Linked DNA regions of Homo sapiens: region 1 is linked to region 2. The links are contacts of gene promoters, found by promoter capture Hi-C in human tissues and cell types (Jung and others, 2019). All regions are on one chromosome and are shown on one strand. The core of a region is centred on a gene start or on the middle of the fragment in contact, and the rest is flanking DNA. Distances in the headings are between cores, read along the strand shown. Region 1 overlaps FNDC3A (fibronectin type III domain containing 3A). Region 2 holds the start of ITM2B (integral membrane protein 2B).

Region 1 (3,837 bases), core at 379-2,878, 850 kb after region 2:
CAAATACACTCCTGAGCTTCTCTCTCTTCCCTTCACCCTATAAAAAGGAAAAAAAAGGTGGGGACTGGGGAAGAATCACTGTGGGCCAGAAACAAGGACTTTTCCACATTTATTTGTCTTCTATTTTAAGAGACAGGGTCTCTTTGTCACCCAGGCTGGAGTGTAGTAGCACAGTCATAGCTCATTGCAGCCTCAAACTCCTGGGCTCAGGTGATCCTCCTGCCTTAGCCTCCTGAGCAGTTAGGACTGCAGGTGCATGCCACCATGCTTTTATAGAGTTGAGTTCTCACTGTGTTGCCCAGGATGCTCTCAAACTCCTGGGCTCAAGCAATCGTCCCATCTCAGCCTCCCAAAGCACTGTGATTACAGGCATGGACAATTGTACCTGGCCCAATATTTGTTTCAAAAAATACAGTTTTCATATTTTTAATGAAAAGAATTAAAAATATCTACATTGTTCTTTTGATTTGATCATTTTCTATTGTCCCATACCATTTTTTCTGAGTCCTCTTCAGAATTTGATGTCTGTCTTCCCTTAGTTCTTTACCTTATTTCATGTCCTTTTGGATAAGGCACCACTCTTAAATATCTAAAAGTGTAGTCTTCTGTTTTGCTAGTTTTCCATTTTGGTCATTGGTTAGATCTGTTTATATTTCCTGATATGAACCCATACCTCATTTTTTCCCCCTTCTTTAACCATTATTCACTGGTTTTAACTTAAATTCTTGATTACTTTTGAAATGAGTGCTAGTTTGAGTCTGTCTCAGGTTTTTTCTGTTGAGAGGTATTTTGAAACAATCTAACTTGTTCTTACGTTTTCATAGTGAAGTGCTTTGATAGCATGTCAACAGATTGTCTTGTATATTGAGAGATACTGTGAAAATTAAGTATTTTGCCTAGTAACTGGTATGTAGAAATGTAAAAATTTATTGAATGGGGAGATTTTAGGTTTTATATTAATAGATCTTTGTAGCATGTGCTAAAGACTACCTTCTTAGTTTTATGTTGTGAAGAGTTATGAAAAATAGGGAATTAGGCAAGGTTTCTAAATTTGGGTTACTGGGAAGGTCATAGAAGCATATTTCATAGAGAATATGTAGTAAACACTTAAGAATCCTGTGTAGAGCTGGCTCTCCTGATGACAAATTGGTTCCTCTAGATATCATCTGTTCTGTGAAGCCCTTGCTTTAGTTTCTCTCCTCTTTTAGCTGTAGATACACATACAGAAATAATTGAAGGCAGATATTTTTACATATGTTTATAGCCCTGATGCTTTGTATGGCACCCAGCACATAGAGACTCTCAATAAACGTTTAAGGTGAGTGAAGAAGAGAAAACAACAGATGTTTCTTGAGCATTTATATGTGTCAAACAAGTAGATGTGTTATAGCCAACAGTTGTAGCTAAAAACCCTCCTTATGAGAGGCAGGTATGGCTTTTTCTCTTTTCGTCTGTGATACCTCAGAATGAATAAATGGGGCTAACGAGTAAGAATTTATTAACTATCTAGGGGTTTTGCATTGTTATGGCACTTCTACTTTGGTGTGATTCCATGCCACTACATGTAAGAGAGAAAATTATGAAAAGCAAAAAATACACAGACGAGCTATGCTTGAATAATTTTTATATGCTCTGGCTCCTTCAAATATTATGTTTTAGACAGACAAGCAAAAATATTGATGATTATTTAATACTTTAATAGGGCAGTAGTTAAGCAGAAGGGTACTTGGGTTTGAGTTCAAACTTTGCCACTTACTATTGTATCAGTCAGATTATATTCAGTATATATTGTGTCTTACACTTGTTTATGTAAATAGTGTGTGTCCGTGTGTATACACATCATGTAGGACTTAGAACATAATTTTGTCATAGAGAAGATTATTATTAGGCCGTATCTTTTGGGATATATTACTTATATCTGTGGAACCATAGAACCCAAGACCTACATCATATATAGTCTCTAATTACATTGATCATGGATTAACCACATCTACATTATAATTTTTCTGCAAAGTGGCTTCTACAAAAACAAAGACCTTATATTCTTCATCCATTCACTTATTCAGTATTCAGTGAGGGACAAAAATGAATAAGCACTGTTTATTTTCTCAAGCTTATTTGTCAGACTTTCTTATATACCTTTATAGGAAGATGAAATAAAATTTGATCATCAGACCGTTGCCAGTCTGCAACTTTGTCTCACGTTGTGTTACTCAGGATTTTGTTCTCTAGGGCTTTCTTTTGAGCCTGTTAAATCAGTACCTTTTTTTTTTTTTTTAACAAAAATAAAAACATGTTTATGAAATGTTTAAGTGTCAGAAAGTTGCTAACGTTAATAAATGTCAAACTCAAGAAGATCAGAACATATTGAAATGATAGGTCAAAAACAGTAGGATAGGCCCAGCACGGTGGCTCACGCCTGTAATCCCAGCACTTTGGGAGGCCGAGGTGGGGCGGATCACCTGTGGTCAGGAGTTCGAGACCAGTTGGACCAACATGATGAAACCCTGTCTCTATTAAAAATACAAAAATTAGCTGGATGTGGTGGCGCAAACCTGTAATCCCAGCTATTCGGGAGGCAGAGGCAGGAGAATCACTTGGACCCGGGAAGCAGAGGTTGCAGTGAGCTGAGATCCTGCCACTGCACTCCAGCCTGGGTGACAGAGTAAGACTCCATCTCAAAAACAAAAAAACCCAACAGGATAAAATTTAATAGGAGTAAATATAAAGTTCTACGTTTTGATTTTAAAAATCTAGGTACTGTATAGTGTGTATTAGTTGGGGTTCCTTTTTTGAAACTTAATCTTGCCTATAAAACACAAAAGAGTTTAAGATGATATTGAGACTCCTCCTGTCCTCATTCCTTTTCCTTCCTAATAGCTCAGTCCTGAAGCTCTTAGGTGAGGCAGAACAATATAGGCAGTGCACTAGTGGGAATGGGAGAGGTGAGCTGCAGTTCCCCAGAGTAGGATGTCAGAGCCCTAATTGAATGAGAACCATATCACATCAGAGAATAGCCAAGTATAGGGAGTTAGAGCCCAAGCAGACTGAAGAGGGAATTCACACAAGAAGGCAGCCTGGTATAGGGAGTCAGAGTATAAGGCTGAGGAGGATATCATCAAGAAGGTATGTAGTGTGGCATGTAAGAACTTGAGCAGGATGAGGCAGTCACTGACGCAATGCAATGATCCAGCATGGGGAATCAGAGCTCAAACAAGAGTGAGGAGGCCATCTGTGTGGAGGGGTAGCCTGACCTGGGTTGTAGGAGTCCCAGCATGGTCAGATAGTGCACAATCTGGGGATGTATTAGAGTGAAGAGTCAGAGCCCAACTAGGGTAAAAAGGGCATCCACACAGAGGTGGTCTAATTAGGAAGTCATCATCAATGCTGTGATTATACCCCTTCCCCTCCTCCACTAAGAACTCAGTATTACTTGCTTCTAGCACAGATACCACTTCTGCAACAGGAATTTTGTAGCCACCCACCACTGCCTGCCAAATTATCAGCACCTGTAGGAGTGATGGTCTTTATCTCACACCAAGGAGACTCCTCAAACACACAAAGGGACTTCAGATTCTATGCACTAAAACAAATGACAGCGTCCACTGCAGTGCAAGAGAAGACAACTTTATGAATAGAACTTGCTTATTTTAGCGGAACTAGAACTAAATATGAGTCATCTATTGAATCCCATTTGCAAAAGGGAAAACAAATGAAATCTTGGACTTCAAAAATAGAAATGCAAGTTCAAAACAGATGGTGGTGTATGCTGGTTAGACGGTATTCTTTTAACATGTTTAAAAGAAGTATTGACAAACTGGGATTGTCCCAAGGAAG
Region 2 (3,922 bases), core at 935-3,434:
CCTCCCTCCTTTGGTAAGCATAAAAACAAACATGGTTGCTGGTGATATGCAGAGCTGGAATCAGATTCATCTTGCTCTCTCAAACTCAACGTCAAAAAGGAAAACAAAGGTCCTCTAAGACTCCCTTTACATTTGGTAGTTAATAGTAACTTATAACTATGTTTTTAACTTTCTTTTGTTGAGTCATGGACTCTCCTCCTCCCTGGCTCCTAAGTTTTCAGGGTCAACGGGCAACCTTTTCTAAATCACAAGACTGGATTTGCTATGTTTGGTCTTGCTCCAGCGTCTTTATTATCCCTGCTGTTGTGCACTACACAGTTCTGTAGACACATGAGATAAAATGGAGAAAAAAAACCAGGAGATTATTCCCAGACCGGTTGCCAACTGATTTTAAACTGTTGCTCACTGCAAGTACACAAAATAATGAATGGTCTTTTATTCATGAGTCTTTCAAAATAGAAATCCTGGGGCGGGGAGGATTTCTAGTTTTGTCAACCTCATTTGTTCATCCTTTGCCTCAGCTTCCTAGTCTGTTCAGTAGTGTTGTTCACGAAGAATTTTGTTTTATTTTCTTCTGTAATTCCTTTTTTCCCCCCGGAGTATAATGACAGCCAGATTCTTCTCTATCATCTACTGCAAAATGCCTTGAGTATTTTTCTACCATCTTATTTTAACACAGAACGAAGTAGGAAGGATGTACATATAATTATTTATAATCCTCCAGATCTTGCTTCCAGAAATACTTAGTCTTCAACTGTAATGTCTCAGGGAACCTATTAAACTAGGGAGCTGGAAGCAGTCGTTGACTTTGAGGAATTAGATAACATTAGATACTATGAAAGTCCAGTCCATAGAGTCAACCTCACAGAGCCGATGCCTGCACAAGGGCGACCCAGGAGTTTAAATAAGTTGCTGCAAGTATGGTTAGCTACTGTTAAAACTCACCAGAACTGGAACCTAACTCATCCTCCTCTTGGTTGAGCAGATTTCATTTTGACAGGAATTTCTGAATACCCAAAGCAAACTCAAAGTCTGGCCTGGGTTTCTATCTCAGCCCAGGATGCTTCTGAAATACATGAACAGAAGGATTTGGAGATCTTGGGCTGTTTCCCTGGGACTTATGATCTGACATTCTATGGAAATACCCAACTCCCTCCTTGAGCAGGGCCAAATCCCCAAAGATCTCAGACTGAACCCACTTTTTTCAGGGTTGGCCCAAGGCAGAGCTGACACAGCTGTAACATTCTAGAGCACACCCACAACTCTGGATGAACCAGGACAGAATGGGGTGGAAGGATACAAGATAACACATTTGTCCAAGGGGGCCGTCTGTTGACACAGTAATGAACGCAGTAACGACGGGAGCCAGTATTCTACCTCGCATTAGTTGTAAATGAAACGTCTTCAAAACATGAGAATTTTGCGTTATCCTTAATTATTTTTTCATTTTGCAGAAAAATAAAGGGACTCGTCATCGAGTACTTTGAGTCACAAATCAGCCAAGTGTGCATGTGGTTTTTTTCCAAGTACGCACAAGAGTGGAACATTTCGTTTTACGAGTGTGAGATGTTTGAAATACAAATCTGCCAAGAGCTTCCTCCACATTGGTCTGGGACTAGGCAGAACAGGCCCTGACCTCCTGAGAGAGGGAAGGAAGACCAGGCAGGTCTGAGCCAGGTAAACGCCCTTGGGTGAGGTCCGTGAAAGATAAAGTCAGATCTCAAGGACAGAGAGCTTTAAACATGTTTGTGCTCCACTGAGTCGGTTACCTAATAAGTGAGAAAATGAAGATGTGGATGCACAAAAATTCCATGGCCTTTAGGCTCGCGGTGGGGACAGGGTACAGGGAAGCGGCGGTCTGGTGCTGCCAAAGGTTAGTCCCTTGTACCCGGCGAACTCAGGAAAGTTCACTCGATTTCGCTACAAACCTGCAGCACTCGGCCTGGAGGTAACCTGGTTGGGAGCGAATTCAGAACTGGAAATTCCAGGCGGCCCAGAGGGACACCCATCCCTCTCCGAGGCGCGCCGGGATCCGGCGCCCAGCTGCGGGGCGAGGGCAGGGTCCCGCGCAGCACCCCACCCCCGGCCGCTGGCCCCGCCCCCGCCCCCGCCCCGCCTCCCAGGGGATGTGCGAGCAGTCTCCGCCCTCGCGCGGGAGCTGGGAGGCTGCGAGATCCCTACCGCAGTAGCCGCCTCTGCCGCCGCGGAGCTTCCCGAACCTCTTCAGCCGCCCGGAGCCGCTCCCGGAGCCCGGCCGTAGAGGCTGCAATCGCAGCCGGGAGCCCGCAGCCCGCGCCCCGAGCCCGCCGCCGCCCTTCGAGGGCGCCCCAGGCCGCGCCATGGTGAAGGTGACGTTCAACTCCGCTCTGGCCCAGAAGGAGGCCAAGAAGGACGAGCCCAAGAGCGGCGAGGAGGCGCTCATCATCCCCCCCGACGCCGTCGCGGTGGACTGCAAGGTCCGAGCCCGGGGAGGTCGAGGAAGCGGGTGCTGGGCCCGGCCGGGGAGGGCTGCGCGGACTGCAGCGGCAGTGCGCCCCGAGGTGGCGGGCGCGGGGCTCGCGCCGCGGGGACAAGTCCCCGAGAGAGCCCGGCGCTCCCGTTTCCTGTGGGTCCGCAGCTCCTTTGTAAGGAAGTGCGTGTGCTGGAAGCGGTGCCTGACGCGGGGTCGGGGGCTTGGGAGGCCTGGAGAGGGAACGATTGGCTAATTGTGCCGAATTCCCGGTCGTTTGTGCAGTCCGGGGAGCGTGCGTGCAGCCAGGACTTGGCTTGTTCGATCTGGGGACCGGCAGCGACAGGCACAACAACAACAACCGAGTTTGGCACTTCCTTCCCAGTATAAATAATGTACCTAAAATGGCTGACATCATTACAAGCCTAAACCTCTGTTGTTTCCCACTTTCGTTTCTAGGCTTGAACAGCACTTGGACTAAGTCCAGCAACTGTAAGCGTCTTAATTTTAAAAGCGTTTCTTTACCTCCTTTTTCCACGGCCCTTCGGTAGTGGCAGGTGAACTTCACCTGGAGAGGGGACGAAGGGACAGTCCGCCCGAAGTAGGTTTGGGCTGTCTCTTACCATTACTAGTAAAGGCCAGTAATGACTATGTGGATGTTAGTGAAAAACCAATTGTTGGCATTTAAATTGTATCAGCGTCTTTGTGAGGACTCCTGCTGCGTGAAACTAAACATGAGAAATTTGCCCCCGGGTCCCTAATAAAATTCTCCTTTATTTTACAAAATCTCCCTTTAATCCTAGGAAAATTCATGAAGTGGGGCTGTTACTGTGTTGACTTTTAGTAGGTTACGATCATATTTACTTAAATATGAGTGTAATTGTCTCATAAGTTAAAAAAGCCCACAGCCTCTTACCCAGACCCTTTTTAGGCTGCAAAAATTAGAAATTAACTGTAAAGTTATGTTGCTTATCTTATTTTTTGTTGTTGTTAGCATTTTTCAAGACCTATTATCAGTAGGGTAAATTTAGTTTTAACTTAAAAAAATTGGTGTGCCACGTATGAATAATGGGAGTTTTTATATGGACGAATGAAAATTATTGCTGAAAAACAGGCCACTAATATACTGTAAAAAATTCACAATATAATGGTAATCTAGACATCATATTATAATTTATTATATTCTGAATATAATCTATCTTCAGAATATAATGGTAATCTTACTTTCTGGAAATGTTCTGATAAAAACAGACACGTCAGAGGTTGATTTCTAAATGACTTGCCTTGCCTTGAAATAGGAACAGTGAACTGATTCCCTAAAAGGATTAAAGGTTTTGGTTTTCGTATTGGTATTGTTTTCCTGAAGCCATTGCAAACAATCTTGGTCTTTAAAGAAAATGTTTGGAATGCACAGATGAAAATTGCAGTAGCAAATTATTATGTTAGCTCTTTGTTTATCTAACATTCGTTGTA

The links. The method cuts DNA at HindIII sites, captures the fragments that hold promoters and counts their contacts. A contact is called where the count stands out against the background at its distance.
Region 1: a fragment that was not itself captured here is called in contact with the fragment with the promoter of ITM2B in region 2 in 2 of the 25 tissues and cell types used here (H1 embryonic stem cells and dorsolateral prefrontal cortex).

Annotation. Positions count from the first base shown.
Region 1 is chr13:49,079,706-49,083,542 of GRCh38, forward strand. All of the region lies in intron 3 of FNDC3A (fibronectin type III domain containing 3A), which reads left to right. Among named protein-coding and RNA genes, the nearest start is that of FNDC3A, 110 kb to the left of the region's middle. RefSeq lists enhancers at 2,917-3,166, 3,357-3,416, 3,627-3,716. The HindIII fragment of the contact is 8,841 bases long and covers 1-3,837 here.
Region 2 is chr13:48,231,022-48,234,943 of GRCh38, forward strand. ITM2B (integral membrane protein 2B) reads left to right here and starts at 2,185. Exons shown (of 6, transcript NM_021999.5): 1 at 2,185-2,456. The coding sequence starts at 2,340. RefSeq lists silencers at 2,061-2,420, 2,431-2,640 and an enhancer at 2,696-3,393. The HindIII fragment of the contact is 16,899 bases long and covers 1-3,922 here.